6 separate regions of the Homo sapiens genome follow, and regions 1, 2, 3, 4 and 5 are each linked to region 6. The links are contacts of gene promoters, found by promoter capture Hi-C in blood cells and fetal thymus (Javierre and others, 2016). All regions are on one chromosome and are shown on one strand. Each heading gives the region's core, a stretch centred on a gene start or on the middle of the fragment in contact. The rest is flanking DNA. Distances are from core to core; before and after follow the strand shown. Region 1 overlaps CDC14A (cell division cycle 14A). Region 2 overlaps CDC14A (cell division cycle 14A). Region 3 overlaps CDC14A (cell division cycle 14A). Region 4 holds the start of GPR88 (G protein-coupled receptor 88). Region 5 overlaps CDC14A (cell division cycle 14A). Region 6 holds the start of FRRS1 (ferric chelate reductase 1).

The links. Contacts are between HindIII fragments. The CHiCAGO score rates a contact against its expected background, and 5 or more counts as called.
Region 1: a fragment that was not itself captured here is called in contact with the fragment with the promoter of FRRS1 in region 6 in 2 of 17 cell types (erythroblasts and total B cells); the score reaches 5.5 in erythroblasts.
Region 2: a contact is called between a fragment that was not itself captured here and the fragment with the promoter of FRRS1 in region 6, in 1 of 17 cell types (erythroblasts). The highest score is 8.4, in erythroblasts.
Region 3: a contact is called between a fragment that was not itself captured here and the fragment with the promoter of FRRS1 in region 6, in 1 of 17 cell types (erythroblasts). The highest score is 5.6, in erythroblasts.
Region 4: a contact is called between the fragment with the promoter of GPR88 here and the fragment with the promoter of FRRS1 in region 6, in 1 of 17 cell types (M1 macrophages). The highest score is 5.9, in M1 macrophages.
Region 5: a contact is called between a fragment that was not itself captured here and the fragment with the promoter of FRRS1 in region 6, in 1 of 17 cell types (erythroblasts). The highest score is 6.2, in erythroblasts.

What each region holds. Positions count from the first base shown.
Region 1 is chr1:100,469,611-100,474,469 of GRCh38, reverse strand. All of the region lies in intron 10 of CDC14A (cell division cycle 14A), which reads right to left. Among named protein-coding and RNA genes, the nearest start is that of GPR88, 66 kb to the left of the region's middle. The HindIII fragment of the contact is 878 bases long and covers 1,708-2,585 here.
Region 2 is chr1:100,445,111-100,449,633 of GRCh38, reverse strand. The region is part of intron 7 of CDC14A (cell division cycle 14A); the gene reads right to left. Among named protein-coding and RNA genes, the nearest start is that of GPR88, 91 kb to the left of the region's middle. The HindIII fragment of the contact is 3,370 bases long and covers 977-4,346 here.
Region 3 is chr1:100,510,141-100,514,787 of GRCh38, reverse strand. All of the region lies in intron 15 of CDC14A (cell division cycle 14A), which reads right to left. Among named protein-coding and RNA genes, the nearest start is that of GPR88, 26 kb to the left of the region's middle. The HindIII fragment of the contact is 1,643 bases long and covers 899-2,541 here.
Region 4 is chr1:100,536,563-100,541,633 of GRCh38, reverse strand. It overlaps GPR88 (G protein-coupled receptor 88), which reads right to left and starts at 3,495. Exons shown (of 2, transcript NM_022049.3): 1 at 3,132-3,495; 2 at 1-2,740. The coding sequence starts at 2,667. The coding sequence ends at 1,513. RefSeq lists a silencer at 1,934-2,103 and enhancers at 1,373-2,221, 2,374-2,773, 2,222-3,071. The HindIII fragment of the contact is 8,214 bases long and covers 1-5,071 here.
Region 5 is chr1:100,417,971-100,422,628 of GRCh38, reverse strand. The region is part of intron 4 of CDC14A (cell division cycle 14A); the gene reads right to left. LOC105379827 (a long non-coding RNA gene) reads left to right here. Exons shown (of 3, transcript XR_007066254.1): 2 at 4,039-4,658. Among named protein-coding and RNA genes, the nearest start is that of CDC14A, 68 kb to the right of the region's middle. The HindIII fragment of the contact is 2,942 bases long and covers 1,742-4,658 here.
Region 6 is chr1:99,765,120-99,769,942 of GRCh38, reverse strand. It overlaps FRRS1 (ferric chelate reductase 1), which reads left to right and starts at 3,308. Exons shown (of 17, transcript NM_001361041.2): 1 at 3,308-3,336. The HindIII fragment of the contact is 6,315 bases long and covers 1-3,561 here.

The DNA of each region.
Region 1 (4,859 bases), core at 897-3,396, 710 kb before region 6:
AAAAGAAATCCCCAGGCCCAGATAATTTCACTGGAGAATTCTACCAAGCATTTTAAGAATTCACACCAGCTCTCACAATCTCTTCCAGGAAACAGAGAAGAACAATTCCCAATTCATTTCATGAAACTAGTATTATCCTGACACAAAACCCAGACAAAACAGACAAAAAAAAGAAAACTACAAACCAATGTTACTTATGAATATGGACATAAAAATTTTTAACTAACAGAGTTCAGCAATATATAAAAAGAATTACACACCATGACCAAATGGTGTTTATTCCAGGGACATAAGCCTTCTTCAATATACAAAAAACAATCGATGCAATCTACCATATTAACAATCTTAAGAAGAAAATCATGTGATCATATCAATCAATGCCAAAAAAGTATTTGACAAGATTCAACACTCATTCATGATAAGAACCCTCAGAAACACAGAAATAGAGGGGAACCGCCTCGACCTGATAAAGAACATCTATAGAAAACCTCAATTAACATACTTAATCCAGGTGAATGCCTGGATGCTTTCCTTCCAAGACTGGGAGCACGACAAGGATGTCTGCTCTTATCACTCTTACTCATCACAGCGCTGGAAGTTTTAGCCTGTCCAACAAGGGAAGAAAAGGAAACACAAGGTATATAGATTAGAAAGAAAATAAAATTGTCCTATTTGTGGATGAAAAAGCAATCCCCAAGAATTTGCACATACATACACACACACACACTCCCATATAAAACTCCTAGGTTTCGGGATACAAAATAAACAGAAAAATCAATTGTGGCCAGGCAGGGTGGCTCACACCTGTAATCCCAGCACTTTGGGAGGCCGAGGTGGGAGGATAACCTGAGGTCAGGAGTTCAAGACCAGCCTGGCCAACATGGTAAAACCCCATCTCTACTAAAAATACAAAAAATTAGCCGGGCGTGGTGGCACACGCCTGTAATCCCAGCTACTTGGGAGGCTGAGGCAGGAGAATCACTTGAACCCAGGAGGCAGAGGCTGCAGTAAGCCAAGATCGTGCCATTGGACTCCAGCTTGGGCAAAAAGAGTGAAACACCGTCTCAAAAAAAAAGAAAGAAAGAAAAAGATAAATCAATTGTATTTCTACATACCAGCAATGAACATATGGACATAAATACCATTTATAATTGCTAAAAAAAAATAAGTACTTAGGTGTAAATTTAACAAAAAAGGACTTGCATCCAGAAAACTACACAATGCTGATGAAAGAAATCAAAGAAGATCTAAATAAATGAAAAGACATATCATGTTTATGGATTAGAAGACTCAACAATAGTAAAGATGTCAATTCTCCCCAAATCGATATAGAGGATTAACATACTTCCTATTAAAATCCCAGAAACATTATCTGTAGATTTAGACAGGCTTACTCTAAAATGTATATGAAAAGGAAAAGAAAGTGGAATTGCTAAGAATATTTTGTTAAACAAGGAGAAAGTGGAAGGAATCACTCTTCCAATATTAAGGCTCACTATATAGGTCCAGTAATCAAGAGAGTGTGGCATTGAAGGAAGGAGACACATAGGTCAATGGAACAGAATAGAGAACAAAGAAATAGATCAACACAAATATATCCAAATGATTTTTGATGCTGCTATAGAAAAAATTCAGTGGAGAAACTGAATTTTCAACGAAAATGGTACTGAAGCAACTGGGCATGCATAGGCCAAAAAAAAAGAAGCTTGACCTAAGTCTCACACGTTATGAAATAAACAAAAACCTCAAAATCCATCACAGACTTAAATGTGAATGTAAAACTATAAACTTTTTAGAAAAAAAAATATGAGAAATCATTGAGTCTAGGGCTAAACTAAGAGTCTCAGACAATATCAAAAAGAAAAAAGTGATAAAAGGGATTTCATCAAAATTTAAAACTTTTATTCTGTAAAAGACCCTATTAAGAGGATGAAAAGACAAGTTATAGACTGAAAAAAACCTTGAAAAACATTTACCAGACAAAGGACTAGTATCTAGAATATACAAAGATTGACCTTAGTCATCAAGAAAAAGCAAATTAAAACTATAAAGCAAGTTATCACTTAAAAAATCTAATGGCTTAAATTTAAGAGACTGACAAACCATTGCTGATGAGAACATAAACAGGCATATCTACTTTGGAAAACTGTTTAATAATTCTAACTCTGAATGCACACATACCCAACTGTTCCACTCACAGGTATATCTCCAACAGATAGCTGTACCAAAAGATAAGAAATAGCTAATGAGGGTGAATCGCTTTTCGTATGTTTATTGGCCATTTGTACATTCTCTTCTATGAAATGTCTTTTCATGTTTCTTACACATTTTTTATCAGATTGTCTTTTTATTGTTAATGTGTAGGAGTGTAAGTATTCTGGGTACAAGTACAGTGCCCATTATTATGTGATGTAAATATTCTCCTACTCTTGTGGTTTTCATTTTCACTCTCTTAATAGTGTCTTTGATGAAGAGAATTTTACAATTTCAACTCAGTTATAGGTAATGCTTTCCATGTACCACTTAAGATATCTTTGTTAACTTCAAAGTATGAATACATTATTTTATGTTATCTTCCAGAAGCTTCACTGATTTTTCTGTCACATTTGAATCAACAACTCATCAGGAATTCCTTTAAAAAATAGGTTGTGAGATAGGAGCCAAGGTTCTTCTTTTTCCCCATATAGATATCCAGTTGACCCAGCAGAATTTACTAAAAAGACCTTTTCCTGTTGCTCTAACATGTCACCTTTATCATAAATCAAGTGTCTGTATATTTTTGAATTTGTTTCTGCACTTTATATTCTATTCTATTGGTTAATTTGTCTGTCTTGACACCAATATCTCAATATCATAATTGCTGCAGTTTTAAAATGAATCCATATCTGGGAGTGTAAATCCTCCAGCTTTGATCTTATTCAAGATAATCTTTATCTTTTCACTTATTTATATCTTCTTTAATTTCTCTCAATAAAAAAAATTCTTCGGTTTTCTGTGTAGAGATATTGCACATCTCTAACCTGAAGTTACCAGATACATTGTAAATGGTATAATTTTTTAGGTTTTATTTTCTAATTGTTTAAGGCTAGTATATGGAATTACAACTGATTGTGCTCCTGTGTAAACACAACCCAAGATAAGATACAGAACATTTCCAACACTCTAGAAAGTTCTGTCATGCTTTTTTGGGGGGTCAGTTTTCCCTGACACACCTCAGAAGCAATTGCTTTCTGATTTCTATCACCACAGAATGGTTTTGCTTGTTCTTGGGCTTTATCTATACAGCATGTATTATTTTGTGTCTGGCTTTTTTTTTCCTCTTACAATAATATGATATTCATCTATGTTGAGTATATCAGTAATTCATTCTTTGTTATTGCTGGCTAGTATTTCATTTTATGAACATATTATGATATATTCACTCATAAATTGTTGACGGACATTTGGATGATTTCTAATTTTGGGCTACTATGAATAAAGCAACTGTGAATATTCTTGTACAAGTCTTTGTAGACAAATGTTTCCATTTCCCTTATTTAAATACCTAGAAATGAAATCATTGGGTCATAGAGTTAAATATAGATTAACGTTATGAGAAATGGCCAAACAATTATACACCAATTGGTTAACACATGAGAGTTCCAGTTGCTCCATATCTTTGCCAGCATTTTGTAGTAAAACTTCTTTTTTGTTTGCCATTTTGGTTGACATAAAATAGTATCTCATTGTGGTTTCAATTTCTATTTCCCTGATGGCTAATGATGTTGGACATCTTTTCATATACATATATTACCTTCTATGAGATATCTGGCCAAGGCTTTTGCCCATTCAAAAATTAATTTTTAAAATTGCTTATTTATACTTTTTAATATATGTGTACAAGTCTTTTGTCAGATATATATACTGTGTGTCTTTTAATTAGCAGAATTTTAAAATTTTGCTAAAATTTCTGAAAACTGACTTTGTATCCTGCAATCTTACTAATTTCACTCTTTAGTTCTAAGTTTTTTTTTCTTTCTTTTTTTTTCATTGCACTGGTTAAGATTTCCAGTATAATATTAGAAGTAGTGAGAGTAGACACCCTTGTTTTGTTCCTGATCTTACAGGAAAAGCATCACCATTAAATATAATTTTAGCTATAGAGTTTTCATAGATTATTTTTATCTGAATGAGGAAATTTCCTTCTATTTCTAGTTTATTGAAAGTTTCTATTAAAAATGGGTACTAAACTTTGTCAAATTTTTGTACATCTATTGGGATAATCATATAATTTTTCTACTTTTTGTGTTAATTTGGTGAATTATATTGATTTTCTAATATTGAGCCATGATGGTCATGATGCACTATCTTTTTTATACAGCTGGATTTGATATGCAATGTTTCTTTAAGAACTCTGTGTTTATGATCATGAGGAATATTCACCATCTGTATATCATTTTGGAGGACTTTCTGTTCAAATCATTTACTCATTTTATATTAAGTTGTTTTCTTGAGTTTTGAGAGTTCTTTATATACAGCTTAAGTATCTATAAATTTAAAAGCCTTTCTTCAGCCTAGAGTGCCTTTGCCTCATAACTCTAATTTCTTCTCTTACTATTTTGAGATATGGCAGAGAGAAAGAGTATAATAGGGAGGTTGGAGGGAGTATGCAGCCATGAAACATGAGGGCTGTGTTATCTGACACCCTGAGAAAGCTAGGTGACCTTGACTGGTAGAATTCTCTGCTATATCTCCTCACCTTGCGAGCTGTACTTAGCAGAATGCCTGGGGCAATAGGTATAGCAATACCTATTAAATGACAAGCAATAATTTTAAGACATTGATTAAATGGCTTAAAGAACTAGGCTTAGGAGTATTTG
Region 2 (4,523 bases), core at 1,412-3,911, 680 kb before region 6:
TGAGAAGAGCTTCCATGGGGTTGAGAAGGACTTAACAGTCAACCATGTAAATACAGTGGACCAGAAAGAAGAGCTGACAGGCAGGAGGAGGGAGCAAGAGCATGTGCAAAAGCTCAGAAGCCGCCACCGGGTAAGCTGCGTGGATTTGGGTATGGGGAGGGAGTGGAAAAGGACAAGGGTGGAGAGGAAGGACAAGCCCATGTCAAGAAGGGCCTTCTGTGCTGTAGTAAGGAGTCTGCATTTCCTCCACACCTTTAGTCAGTGTGGAGCCCATGAAGGGGAAATGATAAAACAGGGGAATGATATAATCAGACTTAATTTTTAAAACCTACACCCTGATAGTAATGTGAAGTCTTGATCGAAGAGGCCCAAGATCCAAGAAAGACTCAATCCCAGGCATCCAGAATGAACCCATGCTTTTTCACAAACAGTTCCCAGATGCGCTACATTGTAATGTGGCTAAAATAATGTGAAATCACTTTCTAGAATAGAAATGGTCTTTCCCCAAAAGAGCACCCTTTAGGTGAAGATAGCAATAATGATAACCTGTGAATTGCTTGAATATCTCAGGAACAAAATAGTCCACATTTCAGCCTGTCATGGATCAGTGAGAAATTTTGTATCACAACTAAATTGATAAGCATAAAAGTAGGGGCTTGAAGCAAGACTCAAATATGGCAACTTCTGCAGAATGAGGCACAAGAATACATGGATTCTATGGTACCAGGTGACAAGAGCAAAGGCTTTAACCCTACACATGGAGAGATGATATTACTGGTAGCCTCCTAAAAAACAAAAAAAGAAAAAGAAACATTGGGCCTAGCAAATATATGGAGCAAACATGAGGCATTTAATATCTGTTCAACAAATGAACTGAAAAGCTATGAGAATGAGGCCATAAGGAGCATGGTGTGGCTACTTGACTTTCAAATAAGAAATGTTCATCTGCACATCATTATTTCTGTAAAACAAAGCTTCCTAGCCAGTGTGACCAGAATGGAGCTGCCTGGGCAGACTGGAGCAGCCAGAGTCCCCAGGCCACTTGCCAACAGCTATGAGCTATCATCACAGGGTGTTGAGCAAATATTATCATTTTCTCCATATGCCATGATGAAAAAACAAAAGGAAGCCCTGTGCGGTGACTGTTGTCAAGGCAGTAACAGGTGCCTCTGTCATCAGGCCTGCAGGCCAAATGTGGCTCTAACTTCTATCAAGACAATGGTAAAGAAGTGGCCTGGGTTTGTTCACATTTAAAAGTATAGGATCAAGGCCACAATAGCTTGATATTCTGGAAAATATTCTCATAATTTTGTTTTTCACACCCAAAAAAGGAATGAGTTATGGCAGGGGGCAGATAATGGCAGCTAGAAAATAGCTCAAAGAAAAAAAGTCAAAGTACTTTCTCAGTTTTGAAGTCATTTTTCAACTTTTATCTCCACCTAATCCCCAAATAGATATTTAAGGAGACTCCTTGAAATTGCATGGGCTGAATTTTGAATGGGGTAATAAATGTAAGCCACAGTGATGAGGAACCTCCGATGTTGCCACTGAAGCACCATTTCTCTGCATTTCTTCCCCCAAACCCAACTAAGAACAGGACACTGCTACCGCATCACACTTCCATCATCAAACCATGGCAAGCCTTTTGGTAAATAGCGGAAAGCCCTTGGGGACAAGCAAAATAACAAACTAGAGACATAACTTCAAATTCTCTCTGATAAATAATAACTGCTTAACAGTAGCATCATGAATGATCACTGGTGTTTGGGCAACATCTTGTTTGGTAAGGACAGCTACCCCCCAAAAAAACAGAAGAAAGCTGACTGAAGGTAGACTCTGTATATGGGTGCCACTTCCAGGTCTTACAAGCAGAGTATCAGCCTACACTAGCATTCACCACTAACTTTACTACTGAAGAGCATAGTTCCTCACATACCTACAGCTACCTAATTTAATTGAATGTTCAAGCTCTATCATCTTCATTATTTTTCCCTAGGACAAAAGGTCAACTTTCATTTTTCTGAACTAGATTTGAAATGGCTAGATTTCAAAGGAGTAAAAGTTCTCAAGGTTCTCAAGGTACATATTCTTTGAGAATACCTTAAGAAGCTGTTGGAGAAGTACAAATGTTTTGACACTGATTCCTAGAGGAAGGTTTTGGACCACCATCTCACAGTTACTTTTGTGGACCTTCCCAGCATAGCTGCCCAAATTTCATGTCTGATCGGGGCAAATGTAAGGAACTGTACAGTTCCACAACAGCTTGCTAAAGGACCTGGAAAGACCACATTTTGGAAGATACTTTTCCAAGACGGAAGCCAACACCTGGTGTTGTTTATCAATACTTAATACAATGGGCCATTTTTAAGTCACATGAAAATAAAGCAAGAGCCTGAGGTATCTCACCTCGAGCTTTCTAAATAGAACAGGGCTTTGAAATTAACTCTCATGTGAACCACAGATCACATGAAGCAAGGAGATATAACCTAGGCTTCATGTCACACTGATGGACTATGACAGTACATTGGCTAGCCTGTCCTTACAGAATCCATACTCTAGCTACATGTGGCTACTATGCACTTGAAATATGGCTAGTCTAAATTAAGATATGCTATAGTATAAACTGCACACTGGAGGCCAGGCGTAGTGGCTCACACTTGCAATCCCAGGACTTTGGAAAGACAAGGTGGGCGGATTGCTTGAGTCCAGGAGTTTGAGACCAACCTGGGCAACATGGCGAAACCCCATCTCTACAAAAAAATACAAAAATTAGCAGGGCAAGGTGGCACACACCTGTGGTCCCAGCTACTCTGGAGGCTGAGGTGGGAGGATGGCTTGAGCCCAGAGGGTCAAGGCTACAGTGAGCCTAGGTTGCACCACTGCACTCCAGCCTGGGTGACAGAGCGAGACCCTCTCTCAAAAAAACACAATAAATAAAATAAATAAACTACACACTGGGTTTCTGAGGCTTAATTCAAAAAAAAATGCAAAATACATACATCATTAATAATTTTTGTATTGCTTACATGTTAAATGCTATTTTAGGTATATTACTAAATATGTAAACAACATATTTACAACAAGTAAAATGTATTGTTAAAACTAATTTCATGATATGACTTTCACATTTCTATTGGACAGCACTGCTTTAGACCCTGGAATTGCAGGAGGAAGATGCATATAACCTTTTGCAGGATGGGCAGAGGTTTATCTGTAGACTTTACACAACAAAGCATTTCCCACATTCTGTTGACCTCATCACTAGAAGCATTTATAAGTAGCACTCTTTCTATAAGATTCCCCTTTAATCTCACATAGAGATACAGTCTTATTGTTTTAGGCTTTTTTGGGGTTTTTTTGTTTTTTGTTTTTCTGAGCCATATCATTTACTAAATGTACTTTAGCAAAGAAAAGTTGCATCTTGAACATCCCCTAATCATCTAAGGCTTACAGTCTCACAAATTGCTGTCAACAATAAAATTTTGCTTTGAAAACTACACTGCCTTCACTGGAATACTGACTTTACTGGAGCTAATAAAATGTATGAATTCAGCTATTCCACAAGTTCACCAAATATCATACTCACTAGAACAGGGCAAACAGCAAGAGAAATCTGACAGGAAATGACTGGGCCCACAGATTGTCAGAAAAGAGTTCCTTTATTCATTTATTCCTTAAACATTTAAGAAATTAAGAAACTAAAAATTAAGAAATACCTACCACCTGCCAATCACAATAGTGGTTTTCTATTTTATAGGCTTTATAATAGAACAGATAAATCATTCTCAAAAAAAAGAAGTTGTTTGACAACATCAAGTCTTCACCAAAACTGACTGCTCCCCTCCCATCACCTAGATGGTTGTTGTCAAGGTGAAACCATGACTACCTTCTTGTCAGATTTTTGTTTGTTTGGCTGGTTGGTTTCCAAGAATAAAATTGCACTGTCTGCTTCAGGTTTTTCAAGATTTTTTTCAACTAACCCTCAGCATCACCATTAAAGTTAGACAGAGAGGAAGGAAGGAAGGAATAAATAAAACATCCACAAGTTTTCTCCTTGAATTGTTCCTTCTTCTCTCTCACCGCTTCCAACCCCCTCCTGCCTCCATCTCTCCTTTAATTGAAATGGCTTTAGTGTTTGGCTGTATATTTAATAATTAATACAATGGGCCATTTGCATTCTTCATGTTCATATACATGGGGCAGAGATCCAGGTTTTGGTGGGGTCTGAAACTCACCTAATTTGAGGGTCCATCTTAGAGTAAAAAATTATTAACACAAAATTGGGTATAGGACTGTAAAAGGTGCCCATACAAGTTGAGGGGGTGAGGCTCTCTAAAATTTAAGCTTCATTAGCTTCAAAGTAAGTCACCTCTGGTCATATAATGTAGACACCTAGATGTGTGGGCTAGGGAGTGTCTTACTATTGTTTGTTTTATTACAAAGATGGATTTTATTAAAGCACTCTTCCATATCCTTTCTCTTCAACAAACATTATAGAAATCATTCCAAGATAAGTGGTATAG
Region 3 (4,647 bases), core at 471-2,970, 750 kb before region 6:
AATTATTCTGAACTAGATATTTGAGTACTTCCTATATGCTAAGGACAGTTCTAAACATCTTATACATATTCACGCATTAAATGTTTCAGACAACCCACTTTACAGATGAGGAAACTGAGGCACAAAGCAGTAATTAGCCCCAATTCATGTAATTAAGAATTGGTGGAGCTGGAATTTGAACCCTAGCAGTCTGACTCTAAAGCTCAAACCCTTAGCTACCATAGTTTAATGTCTCAAGACAGCGAGCATTTGCCTTGTGATCACTACATATTCAATCCAACATTCTCTATCACCCTAACATAGACAAATAATGACCTTAGGCAAGATATGATTCTGAGTGAATAAAAAAAATTATTAAAAAATATTTGTTGCATTAAAAGATAAATACATTTTTGAATGATTTTCATCAGGCCTGAATTCAAAGAATTTTCAGGAATATTCTAAATTTAAAAGAAATTTTCATTATAAGAACATCCATGCTTAAGTATTATGAGTTGATTAAAGTTTTAATTCTGATTGGCCAATGTTTTTAGTTGTTACAATAATGAATTAATGAATCTGAAATACAAAATAAATTATAACAATGACAGTGAAGATGGTTATAAAGAAAGTGAAAATAATTTTTATACCTGAAGTACAAATATTATTTTAGAAGTTAGCCCTTGTTTATATAACCAAGAGATTTTAATTTCTCAAATATAATATTCAAGCTCATTTAATTAGTAAGCTCAACAGAGTTATAGTGAGTTAGGACCAGATCAAGTTTATTATGAATATGTGGTATTCTTATTGTATGAATACCATAAAATTAATAATGTAGCAATATTCAACCTGAAAAATAAGGATAAAATTGCCTTACATTTGCAGCCCCCAAAATTTTTATGTCAAAATATAAGCTTCCATCAAGAAGTCTTGTTCCCTGAAAGCAGTAAGATTTGACATAAAACAAAGTGTTAGGTAAGGAGATCAAGACAATTTGTTCTGTTCTGGAAATCTGCTACTAATCTGTTTTGGCAGATGTAGGTAGTAACTTTAAAATTTTAGCTATTCTGGAGGTGTTTCTTTTTTAAACAGCCCAGTTACCTAATCATGGCAGGAACATGTCTAATAATTACAGATATAAATATTGTACAGATGGTTAATAAATAAAACATGTTAGCTATCAAAAACAGCAAATTATAAAGAATAATGAAAGATTAAGGTCCTTGACAGCAAATGAATGTAACGATGTCTTAATGTTCAAATAACTTGAACCAAAGGATCCAATGGCCTGGAATGTTAGCATCCTACTAAGGTCAAAATCCTGATTCAAAATGTTCATGGACTTTTTTGCCACACTGACATTTTCTTTCCTACATTTTCCCCAGTCCTTTAAGGAATAAACAATAGTGTACTAGTTATCCCTGGTTTAAGTTCTAACCACAGAGGCAAAAAGAACCTAAAATAAAAATGGTTTGTTTTAATGTGATTGAAATTAAAGGAAAAAATACATGCTTGGCAACATGGTATTTTATATACATAACTATAGTGTTTTAAGTTTTAATGAACAAATACAACACTGGGGAAAAATAAATACACCCATAACTGCCTCTGTACTCCTATGTCTCTTTAAGCCTTTGTAATAGAGTTTCCAGTTTTTGTATTGCTCACAAATTAACACATAAAATGTGTGCATTGATACTTATTTCCATAACTGTGGTTTCACAATACTGAAAGTATTTTTTATTTTTTATTTCAATAGGTTTTGAGGTACAAGTGGTTTTTGGCTACATGGATGAATTGTATAGTGGTGAAGTCTGTGACTTTAGTGCACCTGTCACCCAAGTAGTGTATATTGTACCCAACATGTACAATACTGAAAGAATTTGCCTCTGTTAATATGATACATATTTCCTCCAATAACACTAGATGAAATGTAGCTGGGTATGGTTTTATTGGCATCATATTAAGATAAAAGGATGAAGGTTTGTGTTAAAATCAGGTTCGAAAGGTGTGTGTGCATTTTTCCATAGTGTTCTCTGTGCATTTCAGGGACTTCAAGACTTAAAAAGCCAATTTGGGCTCATTATAATGCTATATAAAATAGTCTTTCACCTTCCTACATGATTTTTAATAGATTCTTTTTTCTGGAGAAATTTAATATATGCTTTTCAACAATCACAAAGAGCTCAATTGTTAGATGACAGATTGTTGACACCCAGCTTGACTCAGCCAACCATTACATGAGTGTTTTCAGTTCATCTGAACACCAAAATTATATTGATGCAAACTCAGTTAAAATTTATTTTCTCTTATTTTAGTAAAGCCACATTTCTAGAAAAAAAATACACAACTCCCAGATTACCGTATATTAAAGCTAAAGCTGGAAACTTGTTTGTTTTCTGTTAGTGCTTCATATGCTAACAATGAGACCCAGGCTCCTAAACACTTTAACATTCACGAACCCAGATACATTATCTGACTTTTAGTTCAATAAGTATTTATTAGGCACTTATACTGTACTGTGGAACCTCAGGAAACAAGAGATGTTTCTGAGAAGCTTAAAGGAAAGCAGAGGAGAGAGAGAATCATGTATAACTGACTATAATATGAGAGTGTCAGCGCTCCTAGGAGAGTCGAGAAAGGAAGAGCCATTCTGTTTAGATGGGTCACAAATGCTTATCAAAAAGATAACTATCGAGCCAGGTCAAGAAATACAAAATCAAGCAGAGAAACAAGGGAAAGCAGAGTGGACTGCAAGTGCTAGGGTTCAGGCTTAAGGCAGGTCGTGCCAGGTAGAGCTGCTGGAGAGGAGGCTGGCAGGGAGGCACACAGCCCGACAGGGAAGAACCCTGAATGCCAAGCCAGGGGAGCCAGACTTGACCCAGTAGGCAGAGTGCAGCCACTGAACAAAGCCAAACATGAGAAGGATTTGATTAGCTCTGTGTCTCAGAAATTTAACACTGGCAACAGTATAGAGGAAAGATTAAAGGTAAGAGACAGGAAGACAGAAAGGGCTATGCGATAGTTCATGAAGACCCCAATTAAGGCAGCAGTGGTAAGAATGGAAGGACAGAGGCATTTTAGAGGGAGACTTGATAGGACTTAGTGACTGGTGTGACAAGGGAAAGGCAGGCAGAAGTAGTGTCAAAGCTGACTCCAAATGTCTAGCTTGGATGACTGGATGAATAAAGATGAGATTATTCGGCTAGGAAACCAAAGAGGAGCTGGCAATGGAAGGAACCTGTATTCTCTCTATCCCAGGTAACACCCAGAGGAAGCTGGGAGTGTAGGTCCAATGCTCAGGAGGTTACCCAAAGAGAAAGAGCCAATGTAAGGACAATCATTAAGGGGCAGGCTTAGGAGTAGAAGGACTAACAGGAGCCCATCAGATCTGGCCTTGAAGAAGTCGGCAGTAATCTGCGGGAGAGACTTTCACCAGAATGAGGGGCCACCTCCCAGCTGTAGAGCGGAGGAGTATCAAAGAGACAAGGGAGGGGGAAGTGCAGGCTTCTCTTTCCCCAAGTGTGGCCATAAAGGAGAAACTGTGAGAGGAAGACAGGGCCAAGGGAAGACTCCTCCCCAGCCCCCACCAGCCTACCAACTTGGATGTGCACATTTGCAGTTGAGGAGACCTGCAAACGGAGGGTAAGAGGCTGAAGATACAAAAGGAGAAGGAAGTGGTTAGGGCAACTTCATGAAAGATTCTGGAAAGAACAGTACAGGTAGGTAGAGTTATCATTGGAAAACAGTAGAGTTTCTTTGGAATTAAAAGGGAAGGAAGAAATGGATGAGTCCAGATGCAGATAAACTTTGAGACAGAGAAGAGGGAAGTTAGAGGAAATTACTTCTGATAAATTCTATGTTCTTAGCAGATCTCAAAGCAGGGTCAGCTGGCTCTGGAGATCAGGAAGGGGTTGTGTTGGTGAAAAATGTTAAAAAGTTTTGGAACAGCCAGGTGGGGAAGAGAAAAGGAGCCAAAAAGGGATAAAACAACTAATTAGGAGCACTGAAGGGCCGGGTAAATTAGAAACACATTTGAGATGGAGCCAATTGGCAAAGTTATAGGATTTTCTCCAACAGTGCTCACAGGAGAGAGATGAGGAACAGATACAACAGATGGTTGAATTGATCTAATTTTGGAGGCTGGTAATCAAGTGGTTACAGAATGTCCAAGTAGCAGTGAGAATGTTGGAAAAAGGAAGCAAAAATGACTATGCAGGCTGTAGAAGGAAAGAGGTGAACTGAGATGGCTGGGGAAACAGGCAGGGTCAGAAAGAGGTCATGGAGCAGAGTTAGGAGGAGGGGGAAATGTTTAAAGGAGGCTGGCAGGATTCAAGATGTCAGAAGCAATGTGCTAAGCAATAAGAAGGTTTATTCAATGAATTTTCAAGTGAACAAAAATAAAGATAACTGAGGTTAAGAAAGTTTAAAATAAGATCACTGTGACACCTTGGGCAAGTTATTGCCATTCTGAGTCTTGATTTCCCCATCTGTAAATAGCAGGTTAAATAAATAAGATAATGGATATAAAGTACCTAATACCATGCCAGGCACATAGAAGGTATTCAAGAAACAGTGGATGATGACAATGATTAGAAAAATGTTACAGTTGTCCAGAATGTTGGCAGTGCCCAGGCAGCTAAAAAGTAGAAGCAAAAGTCTTCC
Region 4 (5,071 bases), core at 2,246-4,745, 770 kb before region 6:
TCAAATATTTCTAAGTAAATTTAGTAAACCAAAGATGAATATGACAAATCTCAAATAATATGTTTTAGAACACTTTCCCATTTGAACTGTTCACTATATATGACTGAGTTTATTATACCTCCTTCAACATATACGATATTGATGTTAAATGTCATGGTAATATATATGAACTACATAAAAACAGTGTTGCTTTCTAACGTGTGGCTTGTTTAAACCCTAAAAGAGCACAGCTGGCTTTGCTGAGCCAAACCATATTATTGATCCGTCTTGACTGTGATTCCACTTGTGAGATAAAGTCCCAACTGGGAGCTTTCTCATAAATTGGGTCAAGACAGGAAGAACTCTAGGTAGCCAGAGGTGTCTCTGTGTCTCTTTTCAAATAATTGAAGGCCATTTCTTCTGGTGTCTGGAAGAAGTAAAATATCCTTGTCTAACGGGTATTGCTTCAGTATACCACATGCCCAATAAGTTCTAGCATCTAGGAGCATGCAATAGCAGCTAATATTAGCTATGCAGTCATGGTATTATTAGTGTTTAATTATATCATGTGCATTGAGATATTTTAAATGTTAAAGAGAAAACAGAAGGACTTATTCTTCTTAGCAACCATTATAGTACAGAATGTTCAAAGCTGCAATCACATTCATAAGGCAAATAAATTGGTTACAAAATGAGGGTAGCAACAAGTGTGCATGCTATAGAAAATGTGAAACGGTACCTAAAATAGATAATCACCTTATTTGTTTTCAAAATTCCAGTGCTGGCTCTGACCATCAATTATCAAACTGGAAAATTTTCACTATAACACTCAACGCCAATTTTCAGTCTTAAGAGTGCGAAAAAAAAGGAGCATAAAATAATTTTTTTTCTCACTGGCTAAGATTCTACCTCATTTGAGAAAGACTTTATTAAAAACCCTTTTAAGAATAAAGGGCTTGAGGTCTTAATGGCAACTCATACTGGTGGGCACACCTAGGGCTTCACTGCCCCAGGGTAATATACAAAAACTAAATGGTAAGAGAAGCATCATCAAAGACAGGTTACTTTCTAAAATACTTTCTACATATTGTTTTCCTTCTTCAATGTTATTTCCTTTGGTTCATGCACACTCAAGGCGCTTCATATATAAGACGATGAAAGTGGAAAGGGTTATACATTATGAAAGCTCTTTTTCAAAAACAAACTGTGTGGAAATAAATTAACCGGTTATTTTAAAACGCCAGTTTGCAAGTTCTTCAAGTCTCTGGTGTTTTGACTTTAGGATTCCTCTAAAACACAGAAACAAAGGGTAAAAATCAGGTGGCCGTCCAAAATGACTTCGGGCGCCCCACTTAAAGAGACGCCTTGGTTCAGGTAGCCCGCTGGGGTCGAAGGCCCCATTTTCCCCCGATCTATCGGGCTTCGCGGCGGAAGTCTTCGTTCAGGCAGGGGATGCCCTAGGAGGGAAGGAGGCGACGGTGCCCAAGGACGTCGGAAGCCGGGGATCTCCGCTTCCCTCGGGCCCCGGCTAGGTTACCAGTGCTGGCCCGCGGCGCGGGTGCCCAGTTGCGCCTGGGACACTGCGGGCACGGCTGTGGCGGCAACGGCAGCGGCCGCCGCGTCGCCGACGCCCGGCAGGACTGAGCGCACGGAGCGGCGGAACTCCTCGTTCCTCCACGTGTAGAGCAGCGGATTGAGCGCGGACAGGGCGCAGCACAGGAGCCAGCTGGCCGCCTGCACTCCCCAGGGCACCGGCAGCGAGAAGCCGCTGGCCAGGCTCACCCACACCAGTGGCTGCGTGGCCAGCAGGAAGACGCAGCAGAGCAGCAGCACCGACAGGCCGCTGAGACGCCGCTGTGCCCGCCGCGGGTGCAGCGCGGGCGGCAGGGGCTGGGCCTGCGCCGGGTGCGCGGCGCCACCGGGGCCCGGCGCGTGCTGGGCGCCCGGGAAGGCGGCGGCGGCGGCGGCGCAGCCGGGCAACTGGTGCAGCAGGTGGAAGTTGAGCACGCTGACCCGCTTGACGCTGACACGCACGCGGCGCACGATGCCCAGGTAGCAGTGCAGCAGCAGAGCTGTCTGCGCCAGCAGCGCCGCGGCGGCCAGCAGCGCCGGGTAGTGGACTCGCGGTGGCGCGGCGCCGGGCCGCGGTGCCCAGGGCGGGAGCAGCAGCACGAGGCCCAGGGCGAGCGCCCAGGACAGCGCCAGCATGCCCGCCGTGTGGCGCCTCTGGTACAGCGCCTGGTAGGTGGCGGGCGCCCGGGTGATGAGCAGGTAGCGGTTCAGGGCCACGAGGCAGTGGGAGAGGAGGGACACCGTGAGTCCGAGGCCCAGCAGCCCACCCCGTAGCAGGCGGTAGCTGCCCCCAGCGCCGTCCCAGTCTGCGGGGGGCTCCGCAGAGCCGGTGGGCAGGAGCCCGAGCACCGCCTCCTGCGGCATCCAGAGGGCGCAGACGCTGAGGTCGGCGGCGCAGCCGTTCACGATGAAGGCGTTGCTGGTGGTCTGCAGCTTTCGGAAGGACGACACGAGATAGATGACCATGCCGTTGGCCAGCGTGCCCCCGATGGCCAGGCCCGAATACAGGAGTGACACCGGGATGCGCCGGCCCGCCCACGACTCCTCTTCCTCGCAGAGCAGCAGCAGCGAGCCACCGGTGGTGGAGGAGGTGGATGTGGAGGAGGAGTTGGTCATTCTGGCCAACTCTTCACACCTCCCTCGCTAGCGTCGGCTTCTGGCAGCGCGGTCCATCCTGACACTGTCCTGCCTGCCAGAAGGGCAAAGACATCCCTTCAGCCCTCTGCCACTGACACAAAAGGCTGAAGCAGAATAATGGGCTGGGGGAGGGGGAGAAAGGGAGCTCGAGGAGGAGGACGGGGGTGGCAGATGACAGGTGCCTGCCTCGGAAATGTCTCCAGAGCCAGGGGAAAGGCCACTTTGCATTGGATTCAGCAGGTATCGGGGAAGCCCTAGGACAGAGCAATACCTAAAACAGTCTCCTCTTCTCCCCCAACACACACACACACACACAGAGAGAGAGAGAGAGAGAGAGAGAGAGAGAGAGAGAGAGATATGTTGCCAGCTGGAGGACCTAGTTCCAGGAGAAAGCAGAGATATCCCAGCTGGGGAAAATCCCATGGGAAAGAGGTGAAGGTTACCTTGCGTTTAGGCTGGTCCTTAGCCGGTGTCTCAGGGGGAGGGATGCCGGGAAATACCTCCTCAGCAACAGCATCAGTGGTCCAGAAATCAACAGGAGAAACTCAGCTGGGATCAGTGCCAGGAGCAAGTGCCCGCTTCTCCCAAGCAGCATCCACACACATGGTCCTGGGCAGGAACTAGCAGCTGCAGGGAGACTTCTCAGCTGGTATCAGGGCTGGAGAAAGTAAAGTGGCGGGCTGCAAGCCCAGGCGGGTGGGCAGGCAGGCAGCAGCAGCAAGAATGCTTGGCTGCAAAAGCAGAAGCTGAGCTCAAGAGGAGAGCACCCTGTGCTCAGAAGCAGGAGTGGTGGCTGATGTGGTGAACCCACTCGAAGCTCTCTCCTGCTTAGTTATACATCATCCAGGGAAAAGACAGCCTTTCCACGCTTGGCATGAATTATTCAATAGCTTCCAACTTGTAAAAGGAAGAAAAATATCTTGCTCAGAAAGTCCTGTCGTTAACAAGTTTCTCTGTCTTTTCTCTCTCCCAATCACCTTATTTTTCATCCTGTTTCATTTTTCTTTCCGTCCTTTTTTTCCCTCCCTTCAATATTAGAATAAAATTTAATATACCCTAGAGTATTTCATCTCAGTCTGATGCATTTTGTGGGCAAGATTTTTCTGTGAGATAAATATATTCCCAGTACCCAGGACTGATCTCTTTATTCCCACATTTTTTAACGAGAATTACTTTATGCACTACTTGAAATTCATTTTTCTTTGGTAAAGTGGAACATAGACAATTATCCACAGAAAATCTCCATTCCTCAATTTAAATCGTACTTTCAGTGTTTTCTCATCAACAAACTCCTTTCCGGAGTTTGTTTTGTGTTTTAGTAATGAAATGGTTAGAGGGTAAAAATGAAATGGGCAAAAGATTTAAAGCAGATGTCAGTGGTACATCTAGACAATGGAATATTATTCAGTGCTAAAAAGAAATGAGCTGTCCAGCCATGAAAAGACATGAAGGAACCTTAAGTGTGTATCACTAAGTGACAGAAGCCAACTGGAAAGGACTACATACTGTATGCTACCAACTATGACATTCTTGAGAAGGCAAAACTATGGAGACAGTTAAAAAGACCAGTGGTTGCCCGAGTTAGGGGGAAAGGAGGAATGAATAGATGATCACGGAAGATTCTTAGGACAGTGGAACTACTCTGTATGATACCATAATAGTGGATCTGTGTACTTATAAATTTGCCCAAAGTGGCAGAATGTGAAACATCAGTGTAAGCCATGGACTTTGGGGAATGATGTGTCAACGTACATTCAATTGTAACAGACGAACCACTCTGGTGGGGGATTTTGATAATGGGAGAGGCTATGTATGCGAGGGGCAGGGAGTACATGGGAAATCTCTGTATCTTTCACTCAAATTTGCCATGAATCTAAAATTGCTCTAAAAAAATAAAGTCAATTTTAAAAAAATGTGTGTCAGGGGGAAAGCAAGAAACCTGAATAATCCACAGTGTGAACAAAGATGACTTTTCACTTCAGAACTTTTTGTCTTGTCTGTCTTGGAGATTTGCAGTCTGATGTTGGCATCTTCTTTGGTGCAAGTGTTCATTTATCCATTCCATGTGGGAATTTTTTCAGAAAAGGAGTTCTCTCAATTATTCACTGGAAAAGTCATGTATTTGAAAATGTAACTCAATATGGGAATATGGTAACATGGCATAATAGAAAAAAATGTTAGGTGGGGTTGCAGCACACCCAGATACTAAGCCGAGCATCCATCATGTAGCCTTGCGATGGATTATTTTCATCTTGTCAAATAAGTTCACAGTCAGTCACTTCAAAGGCCCTTTCTGTTAAAACTTTCTGTGAATCCCTATTCATGAATTTAGCATTTCTTCTCTCTAATTATGACACATGGCATATACCTCTTCTATCTAACA
Region 5 (4,658 bases), core at 1,963-4,462, 650 kb before region 6:
TCTAAAAATGGAGAATTGTCACTCTAGTTGCAGCTCAAATAATTACAAAACTCCATTTAAACCAACACTAGCTCTAAAGACCATTTTCAGTAACCAACATTACAACAGGTTTTACTGTACCCTAAGGGGTAGGTTATATAACAGAATTGGTTATAATGCAGTGATTTCTTAAGCCTAAAGATGCCGCAGTATTTGAAAGGTGACTGGTTGCTAAAAGGGAGGGCTGCTTGTAGAAAGCTTCTGTGTGTGGATTAGATAATTAAAGCTTAGACAACAACCTTTGAAAAGCAAAAATGCATTTTCCTCCCCAGGAGCAATTACGTTAATTCCCTTTAATTTGGAGGGAGTCATTCTGCAAGAGGGAGGCACCAGCCCACATGGAATGCTTCTTTAGATTGGCTACCCCACAGGGCTTTGCTCCTCATCTTACCTGCATGACTTAGCACACATGGCCCATGTTCTCACACTGCAAGATGAGACCCTTTGTTTTTATTTTTATCCCAGTGCTCAATTATTAATAAGTGCAAAGTGAAACCCAACAGAGGCCATCTAAATTCCAGGAAGATTCTTGGGGCATCTTTTACAGGTTGACCTTTCACAACCTGAAGGTAGGTATTTGGGCAAAGTGGGGAAATGTTCTCCTGATGAGTGAGTGCATTACTGCATGAATGCATGCTGGGTCATTAAAATACCAAATTCGATTTTTCCAGGACAAAATATGTCACATATTCTTATGCCAGATCTTCTTAGACATGTCTGCTTATTAAAAAGAGAGAGAGGAGAGAGACAGACTAGGCTAGATTAAAGCTCAGAAGAAAAGTGACATTTAGTAAGAAAGGTAAGGAACTTTCCAAACTCGCGTTGTTGCTCTAGGATGAAAACAGAATTCGAACAGTGGGCTGACTCCAAAGCCCACAGCAATTTCATCATATCTGCCTGAAAATATAAACTCAGTTGGTAGCATAGGTCTGGAAAAAAGGTTTCCACTCTTCCAAGTTCCTAAATGCCATTTCATTCCATTTGATTTTAAAACTTAGGGGACTTCAAACTGTTAACAGTTTGTAGTCACATTTGAGGAAAAGGGCAGGGGAAGGATCAGAAGGAGAAAGAGGAACTTTCTACCTTATAGTTCTACTATCAACACATTGTCTTTTTCACAGACATACACAAATCTGTTTTTTAAATGTGAAGTAAGTAAATTAGTTATGCAATGTCAAATGTGTACTCTTTCTAAAAATAAAATCCATATTTAATGCTCGAAAATTTGTTGCCAGATATTCTAATATTTCTAAAAATATTTTTGCCTTCTCTCAGCAGAATCATAAAAATATTTTCTGAATGAAATTAATTTCAAAGCATCTTCTAAATATCTTGATTTTTTCTCTTGTGCTCCTAAGGGGAAAGAAAGAATATGCTGTCTACTTTTCTCGCTAGGTATTAACATATATAAACCCAAACCAGAACTTTCCCCAAACTTTTGACTAATACAACTTAACAAAAGCATTTGCACAGATAATGTTTGGTGTACCACATCATTTTAGTGGGTGGTACATGCACGACTTTGATAAAATTGCCCTACTTTTGCCAAGAAGTCCTAGAAACCATATTAATAATATAGCATTTAACATATACTTTTATTTTTAACTGAGCAGGAGTCACCCAATTAAAGTGACTTTTTTCTGTTTAATTAACTTCCAGGTACCAAGAACTTAAATAACTTTTAGTTTCTTTAATAAAAGCTTCTTAAAGAGCCAGTATCTTAACATATATATTATCAACAGCTATGAGGTTTTATTAAACAGCGTAATAAAATTTACCCTACTACAAACCAGCACAATTTATATTGTTTACCAGTAAGCCAATGTTGCCCATTAGTTAATCATGCACTTTCCCAACTTCTGCCGTAGGTACCACCATGTACTACCATTCATTCTTTTTAAACACACATTTACTTTTGACTTAAATCAATTTGATGTAAAATGTTTTATATCATTGCTATAAATGGGAAAACCCGCCACTGAGTCTATACATAAATGAATATTAAAATGCATAACTCTTATAATTTTAAATATTTGTGTTTACTACACCGTGAGAAACAATGTAACAAATATCAAGTCTGTACTAATTTTATAGAGGAACACCAGACCAACATGAGAAGTTATATAGAATCCTCTTAGAATTCATCTGCAAATACTTCTAAATCATTTTTTTAAACTAAATCCTGCAGTCATTAAATCCTTAATACCTGCTCCAAAATAATATGTGAATTTCTGAAGCATTTTGGAATTTACAACTGTATTTCTCTACTCAGATAATTCAACCTCTCTGATACACAAGGGGAGATTCTTAAAACAATAAATGGCTTCATAGAGAAGTCTCAACCAGACTCTGGGTCATGAATTTGCTAATGATCTTTCTCTGGGGACATTTGCCTCAAACTTTACTATGTTTTTAGCTTTGTTTTTAGGTGCTATTTTTCCTCCAAAAAAAAAAAAAAAAAAAAAAAAACCTTTTCAGCAAAGCATAACACACACACACATACACACTATATATATATATATATATGTGTGTGTGTGTGTGTGTGTGTGTGTGTGTGTATATATGTATATATATATGTATATATATATATATTTAAAAGTGAAATCTGTGCCCCTACATTAATTATATTTATATTTTGTGACTTGGAAAGTGAAAATACTCTTGAGGATTCAATTTGGCCATCTGAAAGAGTATTCTTCAATTTTATTTGTTTAATATTTTACTTGTGTGAAAAAGAGGAAACAAATGCTGACAATAGCCTTTCCCAGGTAGGTGCTGCCACTGGAACATTGGCACGATAGCTTTGAAATTAACATTTCAACCATGTCTTAGTCAATTAAATTCCTTCAAAATACAATTTCCAGAAAACTGATGTTACAACTTTAAAATAGTCTTAAAGCACTATGATTTACCAAATGTGGAAGACTTATGCCAAAAAAGGAGAGACTCCATTTACAAGTTTCAGACAACTAGGTTTAGAATACACAGAATACTAACTGTGGACATTACAAAGACATCACTATGATGTGTGCTTTGGGCTGAAGCCCATTAATCAGCAGAAATGCTGAGTCCTTTCCTTAGCACTGTGTAACTTACAATTATCATGCTTGCAAAACTGCAATTGAGGATGGGGGTGGGCAGATATAAGAAGAAAATGTTTCTTTTACTGGTGAAGCTAACCAGTGCAGAGCACTCACTTGGCTTGAAACTACCGCACCCTAACTGGCTGCTCCCAACATCCCCCTTTCTCATGAGGGGTTCCTCCCAGTCAGCCAGACCCAGAATCTCAAAAGTCATCTTTGACCTTGGCCTCTCCATCACGTGATAGCCACATCAAGTCAATACCCAGACTGATTATCTCTTCACAGTCACAGTCAGTCTCTCTCTTTTTATTTATTTTATTTTAGACAGGTTCTGGCTCTGTCACACAGGCTGGAGTGCAGTGGCACAATCTCAGCTCACTACAACCTCCACCCCCAAGGCTCAAGCCATCCTCCCACCTCAGCCTCCCAAGTAGCTAGGACTACAGGTACACACCACCACATTCAGCTACTTTTTTGTATTTTTCGTAGAGACAGGCCTTCACCATGTTGGCCAGGCTGGTCTCAAACTCCTGGCTTCAAGTGATCCACCCGCCTCAGCCTCCCAAAGTGCTGGGATTACAGGCGTGAGCTACCACTCCTGGCCATCCACAGTCTCTTTCAATTATGGGGTAGATCCAGGTTTGGGAGCCTGAAACACATCATTTGGGGAGCAAAGACGGAGGATACAAACATCTTTTCATATTTTACAAAAAATTTTCCCTTCAACAGCTTGAGAGACGGAACTAAGCAAGAAAAGGCCCTGAGTCTTAAATTTCATTAGTTCCGCAGTGAACTACCTGGACCTTTCTTCCATGACAATCATCATCACGTTATTTCAAACCCTTATCCAAACCCTTATCACCGTACTCTAGGACTAACACCATTTCTCTCTGCCTCCACCTCCTGCCTACTCCAGTAGTTCCAGAGCAGGGCTCGGAAAGTCTCAACCCTGCTCAAAAAGCCCAGTCCAGACTGCCAACCCTTCACCAAGATATCGTCCCAGCCTGCCTTTTCAGGTAAATTTGTCATTTTTCCTCAAATGAACCCTACCCGCTAGCCTGGACTCCTCACCCTTCCCTAAACATACCTGATATCTCTGGTATTTGAGGTTGTTGTTGTTTTTCTGGAATACTTTCCTCACCATTTCTACCTATTAGACCTATATTTCATTAGACCTAAACTCAAATACTATGTCCCATGATGCCTTTCTTCTCCAACTCAGAACCTTTTCCCTTACCCTTTAGACTCCAGAATATGACACTCAACTATAGGTGATAATGATCACAATAATGACAACAATAAAAACAAAAAGTTAACAGTATATACCATGTGCCAGGCACTCTTCTAGGCATTGTACATAACTTGGTTCATTAATCCTCACATCACCCCGAGTTAGGTTCCATTATTATTCCCATTTTCATTTTACAGGAAAAGCACTGAGAATTAGTTGCTCAAGGTCACACAGTCAGTCTGGCTCCCTCATAGAAACTCATAAGCACATCCTGATGGGCCCCTCACAGCTCTTTTGTAATTAGT
Region 6 (4,823 bases), core at 2,059-4,558:
TTCTGGCTTAGGATCCTGTCTACCACTTCTCTGTCTAATCTTCAGCAATTTACTTAGCCACACAGGTCCTTAACATTCTCAGCTGAAGGATGTTCATAATGGATAGGATAATACATGTGCCTTGGTTAAAATGAGTGTTCAATAAATGATAATTATTGTTCTTGCTATACTTTATTTGCCTTCTTCATTCTCATTTTCTCATGAATATACAGTGGAGTTTTCCAGTGGCTACATGAGGTGTTACATGATATCACAAAAGATTGAATGCAAGCAGATATGAGAATCCTACTGTCTTCTATTAAGCCAGACATTAAAGAGATTTGCAACAATTTAAACAATGATACTTTTTCTTTTTTTTAGACTAGTCAAATGCTATACTTTTTCATTAAATTTTTTATTGTTGAAAAACAATAATATAAGCAACAGAAAAGATACTGTGTTAACATGTAACTATTATTGTCACTTAAAAACAAATTTATGAATATTTAACTTTTTCTGTTAATTTTTAATACAAAAATATTAATAGATATCACCCACATAAAGAAGCATCTCTGATGTACATAATAATCTTTCAAAGTTGTGAAGGGACCTTGAAATAAAAAAAGTTTGAGAACTGCTGATATAGAGGCATGAGAATGGTAACCAGTAGGGTAGCTTTAACTTCTTAGGATCTAAGCTCCATTAAACTAATTTTAATAAAATTGGTCTCCTTTGTGACAACTGATGAGTTGATGAAGAGTCTGGTAGAGGTGATCTGGAAGGGAATGATAAGGTGGAATTATAGCTGGGGACATGGAGAGAAATGATAGTCTCAGAAGGGGTGGTGTTTTATTTATTTATTATTTATTGAGATGGAGTCTTGCTCTATTGGCCAGGTTGGAGTGCAGTGGTGTGATCTCTGCTCACTGCAACCTCTGCCACCCAGGTTCAAGCATTCTCCTGCCTCAGCCTCCTGAGTAGCTGGGATTACAGGCGTGTGCCACCACATCTGGCGAATTTTTGTGTTTTTAGTAGAGACAGGGTTTCATCATCTTGGCCAGGCTGGTCTTGAACTCCTGATATCGTGATCCACCCCCCTCGGCCTCCCAAAGTGTTGGGATTACAGATGTGAGCCACTGAGCCTAGTGAAAGGGTTGTTTTAGACAAAGCTAGCCTCTCTCTCCATTCAGTTCTTCCCACTGTGTCGTACCACTTCCTAAGAGTGCTTTAGAATGTAGGGTTCTGATAATATAGTCGAAGAGTTTTTGTTTTATAGACATATCATACTTTTGGCATGCAATGGGGACAGTTCCTGGAAAGGGTCTGTTATCTGCAGAAGGCTATTTCACCACTTGAGGCTTTGAAGAACTGAAGATCAGCTGACTTAGTTTAAAACTATTCATGTTCCCAGCAGCTTTAGGATAGCAAACCAACTCTGGGTCATCTTTATTTAAAGCCTCTCTTTAATAACCTGTAGAGAGGGGCTTTTGTTAATTGTGACTAGTTCTTTAAGAGAAAGCGTAACGTGATGGTGTTCCTTTCTCTGTTCTCTCTTTAAAAATGGTTTAAAGAATTTACTGGGGTTGATTGATAACCAGCATTCACAGGTCAAGGCATGGGTCATAATCTATTTTCCAGTCTGCATATGTTGAAAGCGCCTTTGCAAAAAGGCTTTTTGCAAAGCCTTTTATAACTGAGGAAATTATGGCAGTGAATGAGAACAGACCTAACTGGCTCTGTCTTGCTTCTAATCTTTAAGCTGTCCTTGTTCATTCCTGGGCATATGCCAAACTAACTTTGGGAAGGAATCCAGTTCATGTTTTGACTCTGAAACAAAATTGGTAGTAGCCCTTTCCTGAATAGACCCCCTTCTTGCCTGGGGACCAGTCTGCCTTTGCAGGACCAACAAATTAGCTACAAGATTAGAAATTATGGTTTAGGGGTCATGCAGCCTCTGGCTCCAAGAGTCTGAACCTCCCCAAATTGCTCCTGGGGATAACATCACTATTGTAAAACCTAAGATCAGTGCTTGAGATATTTTGCAGAGCCTGGACTCGGTGGATCAGCTGATGCCACACAGACCGGTAATTGGGCTCACCCAGTTCTGCCATCCCACCCAGGAACAGAAGACAGCAAGAAAACCTCACGTCGACCCCCCATGATTCCATCTCCAATCTGACCAATTAGCACTCCCACTTCCCAAGCCCCTACCCGCCAAATTATCTTTAAAAATTCTGATCTCCGAATCCTGGGGAGACTGTGTTGAGTAATAATAGAACTCCGGGCTGGGCGCGGTGGCTTATGCCTGTAATCTCAGCACTTTGGGAGGCTGAGGCAGGTGGAATCACTTGAGGTCAGGAGTTCCAAACTAGCCTGGCCAACATGGTGAAACCCTGTCTCTGCTAAAATACAAAAATTAGCCGGGCGTGGTGGCGGGCGCCTGTAGTCCCAGCTACTGGGGAGGCTGAGGCAGGAGAATCGCTTGAACCTAGGACGGGGAGGCTGCAGTGAGCCGAGATCATGCCACCGCACTCCAGCCTGGGCCACAGACAGAGACTCCGTCTCAAAACAAAACAAAACAAAACAAACAAACAAACAAAACAAAAAACTCCGGTCTCCTGCACAGCCAGCTCTGCGTGAATTACTCTTTCTCCATTGCGATTCCCCTGTCTTGATAAATCGGCTCTGTCTAGACAGCGGGCAAGGTGAACCCACTGGGCAATTACAATGTCACTCAAGGTCTGAAATGGAATGTTTAATATTTTCAATTACATTAAAGAGAAGAAAAAAAGTAAAAAACAGGAAAACAAAAAACAAAATAAAAACAAAGATTGTTAAAAATTCAATTACATTGTCTTTTCCTAGCCCTAAAATTTTTCTTTTGCAAAAGAGTCTTGTGAAACAGATTAAAGGCTTAAAAAGAAACAAAACTCCTAAATTTCAGGGGTAATTTGCAAAATAAAAGATTTCTTTTGCATTATATCATTCACACTGCAGAAAGGTTTCGGTTCTATGCAATCTGATCTTTTTCCACTTTTTAAAAGTTAATTTGCTTTTACTTAGCACTATTATAGAACAGGTATTTTCAAATAGTTTTGCAATTAAACACAAAAACTATAATTTTTGTGGCGAAGTAGGTACTAGTTGGCAAACACTGTTCCTTAGTGTAAAACAGAATTCTAAGTTTTCAGAAATGGAGTCCTAAAACTAGCACTGGTCTTGCAAATCAAGTTCTGCAGCTTAGTTTGGGAAAGGTTCCCTTTTGGCTCAAGGCTTAACTGGCTCCACCCAGCTGCTGAAATGTGATACAAGTTGTAACAAAACCGGAAGTTGGTTAGGCTGCCTTCGCTTCTCAAGGTAAGTGTCACGTCTTTTTCCTTAATGTCAAAGCTCTTTGTAAAGCGTTAAAAATCAAATCCAGCTTAGCGACAGACTGGAGAGCGAGTGCCTGTGCTGACCAGGGCAGTCGGCCAGGCAGAACGGGTGCTGTATTCCGAAACTATGTTCTGGAGCTTGAATTGAGCTAATGAGTGTTCACTAACGAGTTAGGTTAATATGTCCTGTGACTTTGACTAACAAGCTTTAATTCCAAGATATGGGTGGTTATAAGTAGAGACGTGTTTGGGATCCTGAAAATCATTGACTTTATTCTTGCAGGAGTTTTTTTTTTGTTTTTAATTTTAAATTTAAAACTGTAGGAACTCTTTTTTTATATTTAAAGCTAGTGGCATGGTTACCTATATCAGGGTCACTTAGAACCTTATTTGGTTTTTAAAGTGGCTTTTTATCTAGAACTTTTAGTCCCCTTACCCTCCCACTCCCTAGCCCTGGTGTGTCGTTAAAATTTCAGAAAGACTCCAGGGTGGCAAGGTGTTATCACTGCACTTATTTTTGTGTGTGCTTGTCATACTGCCCTAAAGGGTAAAGGGGATTTTTCAAATTGTAAATGTGTTATTAGGAATATTTCTTAACATAGCTAAACTTTTCAGTTCAGATATTTTCATTTGCTTCTGTATTTTTATTTTTTATTTTTATTTATTTATTTATTCATTTATTTTTGAGACGGAGTCTCGCTCTGTCCGCCAGGCTGGAGTGCAGTGGCGCGATCTCGGCTCACTGCAAGCTCCGCCTCCCGGGTTCAAGCGATTCTTCTGCTTCAGCCTCCTGAGTATACTGCTGGGATTACAGGCGCCCGCCACCACGCCCGGCTAATTTTTTGTATTTTTAGTAGAGACGGGGTTTCACTGTGTTGGCAAGGATGGTCTCTATCTCCTGACCTCGTGATATGCCCGCCTCCGCCTCCCAAAGTGCTGGGATTACAGGCTTGAGCCACCGCGTCTGGCCTATTTATTTATTATTTTCGAGACGGAGTGTTGCTCTTGTGGCCCAGGCTGGAGTGCAACGGCGGGATTTCGGCTCACTGCAACCTCTGCCTCCCGGGTTCAAGCAATTCTCCTGCCTCAGCCTCCTGAGTAGCTGGGATTACAGGCAGGCACCACCACACCCGGCTAATTTTGTATTTTTAGTAGAAACGGGGTTTCTCCATGTTGGTCAGTCTGGTTTCGAACTCCCAGCGTCAGGTCATCTGCCTGCCTCGGCCTCCCAAAGTGCTGGGATTACAGGCGTGAGCCACCGCGCCCAGCCACTTCTGTATTTTTAAAAAAGTGGTAAGATTTGAGTATTATACTGGGATAGAACTGAAGTTGGGGGCTTAATTTGATCTATCAGCTTATTGAAAACAAAGACCTTTTAAGAGATGGTTTTGTTAGGTTGGAGAAGTGAGTTTTAGTTCGTCATTTAGTTAGCCAGTATGTTGATTTTTTTGGTGAAGTGTACTCTCTGTT